Regions from separate parts of the Homo sapiens genome. Here region 1 is linked to region 2. Evidence: promoter capture Hi-C in 16 types of primary human blood cells and fetal thymus (Javierre and others, 2016). All regions are on one chromosome and are shown on one strand. The core of a region is centred on a gene start or on the middle of the fragment in contact, and the rest is flanking DNA. Distances in the headings are between cores, read along the strand shown. Region 1 has its middle 43 kb from the start of JDP2-AS1. Region 2 holds the start of FOS (Fos proto-oncogene, AP-1 transcription factor subunit).

The links. The method cuts DNA at HindIII sites, captures the fragments that hold promoters and counts their contacts. A CHiCAGO score of 5 or more calls a contact.
Region 1: a contact is called between a fragment that was not itself captured here and the fragment with the promoter of FOS in region 2, in 1 of 17 cell types (monocytes). The highest score is 5.5, in monocytes.

The regions. Positions count from the first base shown.
Region 1 is chr14:75,382,357-75,387,810 of GRCh38, forward strand. No RefSeq gene overlaps it. Among named protein-coding and RNA genes, the nearest start is that of JDP2-AS1, 43 kb to the right of the region's middle. The HindIII fragment of the contact is 3,002 bases long and covers 1,882-4,883 here.
Region 2 is chr14:75,276,267-75,281,818 of GRCh38, forward strand. It overlaps FOS (Fos proto-oncogene, AP-1 transcription factor subunit), which reads left to right and starts at 2,562. Exons shown (of 4, transcript NM_005252.4): 1 at 2,562-2,857; 2 at 3,611-3,862; 3 at 4,294-4,401; 4 at 4,517-5,552. The coding sequence starts at 2,717. The coding sequence ends at 5,158. RefSeq lists silencers at 726-1,235, 1,964-2,053, 2,404-2,463 and enhancers at 2,552-3,479, 2,834-2,893, 3,480-4,405, 4,432-4,991, 4,992-5,551. The HindIII fragment of the contact is 6,704 bases long and covers 381-5,552 here.

The DNA of each region.
Region 1 (5,454 bases), core at 2,133-4,632, 110 kb after region 2:
CAAGTGATTCTCCTGCCTCAGCCTCCCTAGTAGCTGGGACTACAGGCGCCTGCCACTATGCCTGGCTAATTTTTGTATTTTTAGTAGAGACAGGGTTTCACCATGTTGGCCAGGCTGGTCTCAAACTCCTGACCTCAAGTGATCTGCCTGTCTCGGCCTCCTAAAGTGTTAGGATCACAGGTGTGAGCCACCGCGCCCAGCGTATATATATTATACATGTTATATATATATAATACAATATATATATTTAGAGTCAGGGTCACACTCTGTCACCCAGGCTGCAGTGCAGTGGCATGATCATAGCTCACTGTAAATTTGGACTCCTGGCCTCAAGTGATCCTCCTGCCTCAGCCTCCCAAAGTGCTGGGATTACAGGTGTGTGCCACCACACCCAGCCATACTAAACACTTTTTAACTCAGTTGCTATTACCCTATACATCATGGCCAGCTTTTGGTTTTTTAAATTTTTTAATTTTTATAGGTACATAGTAGGTGAATATATGTGTAGAACACATATGATGTTTTGATACAGGCATACGATGTGTAATAACCACCTCAGGATAATTGGAGTATGCATCACCTCAAGCATTTATAATTTCTTTGTGTTAGGAACATTCCAATTCTACTCCTTTAGTTATTCTAACATACATAATTATTGTTGAGTACAGTCACCCTGTTGTGCTATCAAATATTAGATCTTATTCATTCTATTTCACTTTTTTTTTTTTTTGAGACAGAGTCTCACTCTGTCACCCAGGCTGGAGCGCAGTGGCAGGATCTCGGCTCACTGCAAGCTCCGCCTCCCAGGTTCACGCCATTCTTCTGCCTTGGCCTCCCAAGTAGCTGGGACTATGGGCGCCCGCCACCATGCCCGGCTAATTTTTTGTATTTTTAGTAGAGACGAGGTTTCACCTGTTAGCCAAGATGGTCTCGATCTCCTGACCTTGTGATCCGCCCGCCTCAGCCTCCCAAAGTGCTAGGATTACAGGCGTGAGCCACTGCGCCTGGCCTTAACTATGCTTTTGCACCAATTAACCATCCTCACTTCCCCTACTCCCTGCTTCTGCTTTTCCCATCCTCTGGTAACCATCATTCTACCCTATTTTCATGAGTTCGATTGTTTCCATTTTTAGCTCCCACATGTGAATGAGAACATGTGAAACTTGTCTTTCTGTACCTGACTTATTTCACTTAATGGAATGTCTTCCAGTTCCATCTGCATTGTTGGAGACGGCAGGATTTCATTCTTTTTTATGGCTGAATAATGTTTCATTGTGTATATGCACCACATTTTCTTTATCCATCTGTTGATGGAGACTTAGGTTGATTCCAAATCTTGGCACTGTGAATAGTGCTGCAATAAACATGGGAGTGCAGATACCTCTTTGATATACTGATTTACTTTCTTTTGGGTATATACCCAAAAGTATATTGGGGATTGCTGGATCACATGGTAGCTCTATTTTTAGTTTTTTGAGGAACCTTCATACTGTTCCCCATAGTGGCTATGCTAATTTACATTCTCACCAACAGCGTGTGAGGGTTCCCCTTTCTCCACATCCTTGTCAGCTTTCATTATTGTCTGTCTTTTGGATAGAAGCTGTTCTAACTGGGGTGAGATGATATCTCACTGTGGTTTTGATTTGCATTTCTTGATGATTAATGATGTTGAGCATTTTTTTATATACTTGGCCATTTGTATGTCTTATTTTGAGGAATGTCTATTCAGATCTTTTGCTTATTCTTAAATCACATTATTAGATTTCTTTCTTATTGAGTTGCTTGAGCTGTTTCTATATTTTCTCCGAAATACTGTAAATATTTTCTCCCATTCTGTGCATTGTCTCTTCACTTTGTTGACTGTTTCTTTTGCTGTGCAGAAGCTTTTTAATTTGATGTGATCCCATTTGTCCATTTTTGCTTTGGTTGCCTTTGTGGCAGGCTTTCAACAAAAAATTATAAGGCATGCTAAAGGTAATAAAAGTACAGTCTGAAAAGACAAAGTAAGCAGCAGAAACAGATTCAGATATGACACAGATTTTGGATTTATCATACAGGGGATTTAAAATAGCTAATATGTTAGGAACTCTACTGGAAAAAGCATACGACATGGTAGAGCAGATGGTAATGTAAGCAGAGAGCTGAAAACTCTAAGAAAGAATTAAAAGGAAAAGCTAGAAATCAGAAACACTGCAACAGAAATGAAGAATGCCTTTGATGGGCTCATTAGTAGAATGAATTGGCTAAGGGAAGAATCAGTGAGCTTAAAGATATGTCAATAGAAATTTCTCAAACTGAAATGTGAAGAGGAAAAAAAGAGAAACAAACAAAACAAAACAGAAACCCCAGAACTGTGGGATAACTTCAAGAGATATAACATACACATAATTGGAATGCCAGAAATTAAAGGAGATTACACAGCAAAAGAAATATTTGAAATAATAATGGTCAAGAACTGTCCAAATTAGTGACAGACACCAAACCTCAGATCCAGGGAGTTGAGAGAACATCAAGCAGGATAAATATCAAAAATATCTACACTTAGGAAAATTGTATTCAAATTTCAGAAAACCAAAGACAAAGAGAAAAATCCTAAAAGAACCTGGAGGGGAAAGCCCCTTTACCTATAGACAAACAAGGATAATACCTACAGAGAATCTTTTGTCAAAAACCATGCAAGCAAGAGGAGAGTGTAGTAAAATATTAAAATGTTGGAGAAAGAACCCCTACCAACCTAGAATTCTATATCCAGTGAAATTATCCTTCAAAAATAAAGAAGAAATAAAGACTTTTCAAACAAAAACAAGATATCATTGCCAGCAGATTTGCCCTGAAAGAAATTTTAAAAAAATAATCCAGGGAGAAGGTTAGTGATATAAGATCAGATCCACATAAAGAAGGAAAGAGCACTGGAGAAGAAATTAATGGAGGTAAAACAAAAGTTTATTTTTTTGCCGGGTGTGGTAGCTCACGCCTGTAATCCCAGCACTTTGGGAGGCTGAGGTGGGTGGATCACAAGGTCAGGAGTTCGAGACCAGCCTGACCAACGTGGTGAAACCCCATCTCTACTAAAAATACAAAAATTAGCCGGGTGTGGTGGCATGCACCTGTAATCCCAGCTACTCAGGAGGCTGAGGCAGGAGAATCGCTTGAACCCAGGAGGCAGAGGTTGCAGTGAGCTGAGATTGTGCCACTGTACTCCAGCCTGGGCGACAGAGTGAGATTCCATCTCAAAAAAAAAATTATTTTTATTCTTAATTGATCTAAAAGATAACTGTTTAAAGCAAAATAATAAGTTATTGGGTAAATTATAGAATATGAATAAGTGAAATGAATGACAGCAATGTTATAAGGGAGAAGAGGAGGAATTGGAAATTCTGTTATAAGGTACCTACAATACATGTGAATTAGTATAGTTTTATTTGAAGTGACTTAAATTAGTTGTAATTGTATATTGCAAATTCTAGGCTAACTACTAAAAGAAATTTTAAAGGAAATATAATTGATATGCTAACAGATAAAATGAAATCATATAAAATGCTCAATTAAATAATGCTCAGAGAAGGCAAGAAAAACAGGGAAGAAGAAAAAGAAGCAAAGAATAAGTACAATGAATAGAAAACAGTTACAAACATGATAGATTTAACCCAACTATATCAATAATCACTTTAAATGTGACTGGTCTAAGTATACAAATTAAAAGACAGAGATTATCAGAGTGGCTAAATAACACAACAAGACACAGCTATATTTTGCTTATAAGAAACCCATCTTAAATATCATGATTCAGATAAGTTAAAAGTAAATGAGTGGAGAAAGACACACCATGGTAACACTAAGAAAACAAAGCTGGAGTAGTTCCATTAACTTCAGACAAAGCTGACTTTGGAAAATGAAAATTCTCAGGACTAAACAGAGGAATCACACATTGATAAACGGGCCAATTGTCCAAAAGGACATAACAATCCATAATGTGTATGCACCTAACAACAGAGCATCAAAATGTGTGATGCAAAAATTTACAGAACTGGATGGGCGCAATGGTTCACGCTTGTAATCCCAGCACTTTGGGAGGCTGACAGGGATGGATCACCTGAGGTCAGGAGTTGGAGACTAGCCTGGCCAACATGGTGAAACCCCATCTCTACTAAAAATACACAAATTAGCGGGGGTTGTGGTGGGTGCCTGTAATCCCAGCTACTCAGGAGGCTGAGGCAGGAGAATCGCTTGAACCCAGGTGGTGGAGGTGGAAGTGAACTGAGAGCATGCCACTGCACTCCAGCCTGGGCAACAAATAAAACTCCATCTTAAAAAAAAAAATTGACAGAGCTGATGGGAGAGTTAGGCAAGTGCACTACTATAATTGGAGACTTCAACACCTCTCTTTCAGTCATTGATAAATCAAGCAGGGAGAAAATCAGTAAGGATATAGTTGACCTGATCAGAATTACCAATCAACTTGATTTCATTGACATTTATAGAATATTCAAAGCAGCAAGAGCAGAGTATACATTCTTCCCAAACTCACATGGAACATTCACCAAGACAGACCACATTCTGAGCCATAAAACACACCTTAACACACTTAAGAGAATAGAAATCATACAACGTATGTTCTCAGACCACAATGGAATTAAACTAAAAATCAGTAACAGAAAGGTGGCTGGAAAATCCAAAAATATTTAGAGATTTAACAACATACATTTAAAGAACACAAGGGCCAAAAAAGTCTCAAGAGAAATTTTAAAATATTTGAATTAAATGAAAATGAAAATACAACTTATCAATGTATGTGGGATGCAGTGAAAGTAGAAATTTGAGGGCAATCTATAGCATTGAATGCATATATTAGAAAAGAAGAAATATCTAAAATCAACAATCTAAGCTTTCACCTTGGAAACTGGAATAAGAACACTAATTTAAGTTCGAAGCAAGCAGCAGAAAATAATAATAAAAATTATAGAAGAAACCAATAAATTTGAAAACAGGAGAACAGTAGAGAAAATCAACAAAACCAAAAACTAGTACCTTGAAAAGATCAATGAAATTGATAAACCTCTACACATGCTAATCAAGAAAAAAAGAGAGAAGACACAAATTATCAATATCAGAGATGAAGGAGAGGCTATCACTACTGATCACAGGGACACTAAAAGGATAATAAAAGAATACTATGAACAACTTTATACCCACAAATTTGATAACTATGATGAATGGATCAGTTCCTCAAAAGGCACAAACTACTAAAACTCACACAAGGAGAAAGAGATAGTTTGAATAGTTCTACATCTATCAAAGAAATTGAATCAATAATTCATAGTATTCCACGAAAGAAAGCACGAGGCCCAGATGATTTCACTGGTGAGTTTTACCAGACATTTAAGGAACATTTCTTTCAGAAAATAGAAGCACAAAGAACATTTCCTAACTCATTCTGTGAGGCCAGCATTACTC
Region 2 (5,552 bases), core at 1,312-3,811:
AAATCATTCTAGGTTTTCTTTTCTTTTCTTTTGGAGACAGAATCTTGCTCTGTTGCCCAGGCTGGAGTGCGGTGGCACGATCTCGGCTCACAGGAACCTCTGCCTCCCGGGTTCAAGCAATTCTCCTGCCTCAGCCTCCTGAGTAGCTGGGACTACAGGCGTGCGCCACCACACCCGGCTGTTTTGTATTTTTAGCAGGGACAGAGTTTCACCATGATGGCCAAGCTGGTCTCGAACTCCTGGCCTCAAGTGATCCACCCGCCTCGGGCTCCCAAAGTGCAGGAATTACAGGAGTGAGCCACCGCACCCAGTCAGGTTTCCTGTTAAGTGGCCTGAGATCTAGTTGTGAATGGCAGTCATGGCCAGACTCAGGAATTCAAAGCTTGACCTATTTTGTCTGAAGCTAATATTAATAATAAGAGAGATGTATTTGGCTTCATAACCCCTTTCCCTCCCGTCCCCCTCTTTCTTTCTGTAATCAAGGATAGAATTAGAAGTACCGAAGGCCGCAGAATTGCTTTAGGATTCAGAGCAGCTCCAAGGAATCTGTGTTTACGTATTATGTGTGTTTTTCCGTTTCCCTCCCTTTTTATGAGTGAGAAAAAAAAGCGCCTAAATTCCCACCAACATAAACCAATGACATACAATGATGAAATTCTGTTTTCACCTCTGCCTGTGACAGGGAATGCAAAAATAGCAAGTGGCCCAGTTCCACGAATCCCCGCCTCCTGCCCTCCCCGCTCCTGCCGGGTTGGATCTCTAAGAATGGAGGTTAGCGCACAGCCTCGCGCGGGCCGCTCAGCCCCCGGACCCGGCGGATGATGTCAGGCGACGGGAGCGGCCGCGGCCGGGCCGGGGAGGCCGCGGCCCAGGGGAGCTGGGAGGGAGGGTGGCCTCGCCAGGCCGACGGCGCGCCCGGCCGCGCGGCGTTGCCTGGAGACGGCCCTGGCGGCGCTGTGTTGCTGTAAACAGCCGCTTCCCTGTTACTATCTATAGCAGGATCTCCTGGCTCCCGGGCGCGGCGGCTGGAGGCAGGTCTGCGGTCCGGCTCCCCGCGCGCCCCGAACTATCCGCCCGCCGGCCTCATCCTGCCTCGCCCCTCTCCAGGTGCCCACCGCGGGCCCCGACCCCCGGGCCCGAAGAGTGGAGAAGGGAAGACCGGGGCTGTGCGGGGACATGCGTCTTCGCGCCCTGGAGGTGGCCAGCGCGCTGGGGCTGAGCCCCGGCAGCGTGACCCCGGCTGTCCTACGCAGCAGGGCAGGAGATTGGGGGGCGTGGCACACTCTGGAGCACCTTGCCTCCCCAAAGCCCCGTGTTCCAGGACGTGGAGCCGCTCCTGGGGTCCCAGCAGTCGAGGTATTCCGCCCAGGCGCAGCTGGACACTGTCCTTCCAGCCCCCGTCCTCCACCCTCCAAGTCCGCGCTGGAAAATCACCCGCTGCGGGCTCCCGTAAGCACAGCTTCCTGGCGGGACCGAACCAGCCCTCAGCGCAGATTTGAGTTCCCCGCAGGAAGCACACCCCGCCTTGTCATCCCGAACTGACCACCCTGCCCACATAACCACACCTCGCACTCCCTACCCCTGGGGCCCAGCTCAGAACCGGGCAGACACCCCCTTCAAATGTCTTCGCACGTAGGTTTTGCACAGTGTTTATCTGCTGGTGTCTCAGGGATTTGACAGTTTCCTTAATATTCCCACACATGGCCGAGAAAAATAAATAAATAAATGCGCTGTCTTCTTTAAAAAAATAAATAAATAAAGTACCCAGTATCGTAAAGTAGGTTATCGTATTCTCTTATTTTGGATCCTCCACTTTCTGCTTCCAAACGCAGGAACAGTGCTAGTATTGCTCGAGCCCGAGGGCTGGAGGTTAGGGGATGAAGGTCTGCTTCCACGCTTTGCACTGAATTAGGGCTAGAATTGGGGATGGGGGTAGGGGCGCATTCCTTCGGGAGCCGAGGCTTAAGTCCTCGGGGTCCTGTACTCGATGCCGTTTCTCCTATCTCTGAGCCTCAGAACTGTCTTCAGTTTCCGTACAAGGGTAAAAAGGCGCTCTCTGCCCCATCCCCCCCGACCTCGGGAACAAGGGTCCGCATTGAACCAGGTGCGAATGTTCTCTCTCATTCTGCGCCGTTCCCGCCTCCCCTCCCCCAGCCGCGGCCCCCGCCTCCCCCCGCACTGCACCCTCGGTGTTGGCTGCAGCCCGCGAGCAGTTCCCGTCAATCCCTCCCCCCTTACACAGGATGTCCATATTAGGACATCTGCGTCAGCAGGTTTCCACGGCCTTTCCCTGTAGCCCTGGGGGGAGCCATCCCCGAAACCCCTCATCTTGGGGGGCCCACGAGACCTCTGAGACAGGAACTGCGAAATGCTCACGAGATTAGGACACGCGCCAAGGCGGGGGCAGGGAGCTGCGAGCGCTGGGGACGCAGCCGGGCGGCCGCAGAAGCGCCCAGGCCCGCGCGCCACCCCTCTGGCGCCACCGTGGTTGAGCCCGTGACGTTTACACTCATTCATAAAACGCTTGTTATAAAAGCAGTGGCTGCGGCGCCTCGTACTCCAACCGCATCTGCAGCGAGCATCTGAGAAGCCAAGACTGAGCCGGCGGCCGCGGCGCAGCGAACGAGCAGTGACCGTGCTCCTACCCAGCTCTGCTCCACAGCGCCCACCTGTCTCCGCCCCTCGGCCCCTCGCCCGGCTTTGCCTAACCGCCACGATGATGTTCTCGGGCTTCAACGCAGACTACGAGGCGTCATCCTCCCGCTGCAGCAGCGCGTCCCCGGCCGGGGATAGCCTCTCTTACTACCACTCACCCGCAGACTCCTTCTCCAGCATGGGCTCGCCTGTCAACGCGCAGGTAAGGCTGGCTTCCCGTCGCCGCGGGGCCGGGGGCTTGGGGTCGCGGAGGAGGAGACACCGGGCGGGACGCTCCAGTAGATGAGTAGGGGGCTCCCTTGTGCCTGGAGGGAGGCTGCCGTGGCCGGAGCGGTGCCGGCTCGGGGGCTCGGGACTTGCTCTGAGCGCACGCACGCTTGCCATAGTAAGAATTGGTTCCCCCTTCGGGAGGCAGGTTCGTTCTGAGCAACCTCTGGTCTGCACTCCAGGACGGATCTCTGACATTAGCTGGAGCAGACGTGTCCCAAGCACAAACTCGCTAACTAGAGCCTGGCTTCTCCGGGGAGGTGGCAGAAAGCGGCAATCCCCCCTCCCCCGGCAGCCTGGAGCACGGAGGAGGGATGAGGGAGGAGGGTGCAGCGGGCGGGTGTGTAAGGCAGTTTCATTGATAAAAAGCGAGTTCATTCTGGAGACTCCGGAGCGGCGCCTGCGTCAGCGCAGACGTCAGGGATATTTATAACAAACCCCCTTTCAAGCAAGTGATGCTGAAGGGATAACGGGAACGCAGCGGCAGGATGGAAGAGACAGGCACTGCGCTGCGGAATGCCTGGGAGGAAAAGGGGGAGACCTTTCATCCAGGATGAGGGACATTTAAGATGAAATGTCCGTGGCAGGATCGTTTCTCTTCACTGCTGCATGCGGCACTGGGAACTCGCCCCACCTGTGTCCGGAACCTGCTCGCTCACGTCGGCTTTCCCCTTCTGTTTTGTTCTAGGACTTCTGCACGGACCTGGCCGTCTCCAGTGCCAACTTCATTCCCACGGTCACTGCCATCTCGACCAGTCCGGACCTGCAGTGGCTGGTGCAGCCCGCCCTCGTCTCCTCCGTGGCCCCATCGCAGACCAGAGCCCCTCACCCTTTCGGAGTCCCCGCCCCCTCCGCTGGGGCTTACTCCAGGGCTGGCGTTGTGAAGACCATGACAGGAGGCCGAGCGCAGAGCATTGGCAGGAGGGGCAAGGTGGAACAGGTGAGGAACTCTAGCGTACTCTTCCTGGGAATGTGGGGGCTGGGTGGGAAGCAGCCCCGGAGATGCAGGAGCCCAGTACAGAGGATGAAGCCACTGATGGGGCTGGCTGCACATCCGTAACTGGGAGCCCTGGCTCCAAGCCCATTCCATCCCAACTCAGACTCTGAGTCTCACCCTAAGAAGTACTCTCATAGTTTCTTCCCTAAGTTTCTTACCGCATGCTTTCAGACTGGGCTCTTCTTTGTTCTCTTGCTGAGGATCTTATTTTAAATGCAAGTCACACCTAGTCTGCAACTGCAGGTCAGAAATGGTTTCACAGTGGGGTGCCAGGAAGCAGGGAAGCTGCAGGAGCCAGTTCTACTGGGGTGGGTGAATGGAGGTGATGGCAGACACTTTTACTGAATGTCGGTCTTTTTTTGTGATTATTCTAGTTATCTCCAGAAGAAGAAGAGAAAAGGAGAATCCGAAGGGAAAGGAATAAGATGGCTGCAGCCAAATGCCGCAACCGGAGGAGGGAGCTGACTGATACACTCCAAGCGGTAGGTACTCTGTGGGTTGCTCCTTTTTAAAACTTAAGGGGAAAGTTGGAGATTGAGCATAAGGGCCCTTGAGTAAGACTGTGTCTTATGCTTTCCTTTATCCCTCTGTATACAGGAGACAGACCAACTAGAAGATGAGAAGTCTGCTTTGCAGACCGAGATTGCCAACCTGCTGAAGGAGAAGGAAAAACTAGAGTTCATCCTGGCAGCTCACCGACCTGCCTGCAAGATCCCTGATGACCTGGGCTTCCCAGAAGAGATGTCTGTGGCTTCCCTTGATCTGACTGGGGGCCTGCCAGAGGTTGCCACCCCGGAGTCTGAGGAGGCCTTCACCCTGCCTCTCCTCAATGACCCTGAGCCCAAGCCCTCAGTGGAACCTGTCAAGAGCATCAGCAGCATGGAGCTGAAGACCGAGCCCTTTGATGACTTCCTGTTCCCAGCATCATCCAGGCCCAGTGGCTCTGAGACAGCCCGCTCCGTGCCAGACATGGACCTATCTGGGTCCTTCTATGCAGCAGACTGGGAGCCTCTGCACAGTGGCTCCCTGGGGATGGGGCCCATGGCCACAGAGCTGGAGCCCCTGTGCACTCCGGTGGTCACCTGTACTCCCAGCTGCACTGCTTACACGTCTTCCTTCGTCTTCACCTACCCCGAGGCTGACTCCTTCCCCAGCTGTGCAGCTGCCCACCGCAAGGGCAGCAGCAGCAATGAGCCTTCCTCTGACTCGCTCAGCTCACCCACGCTGCTGGCCCTGTGAGGGGGCAGGGAAGGGGAGGCAGCCGGCACCCACAAGTGCCACTGCCCGAGCTGGTGCATTACAGAGAGGAGAAACACATCTTCCCTAGAGGGTTCCTGTAGACCTAGGGAGGACCTTATCTGTGCGTGAAACACACCAGGCTGTGGGCCTCAAGGACTTGAAAGCATCCATGTGTGGACTCAAGTCCTTACCTCTTCCGGAGATGTAGCAAAACGCATGGAGTGTGTATTGTTCCCAGTGACACTTCAGAGAGCTGGTAGTTAGTAGCATGTTGAGCCAGGCCTGGGTCTGTGTCTCTTTTCTCTTTCTCCTTAGTCTTCTCATAGCATTAACTAATCTATTGGGTTCATTATTGGAATTAACCTGGTGCTGGATATTTTCAAATTGTATCTAG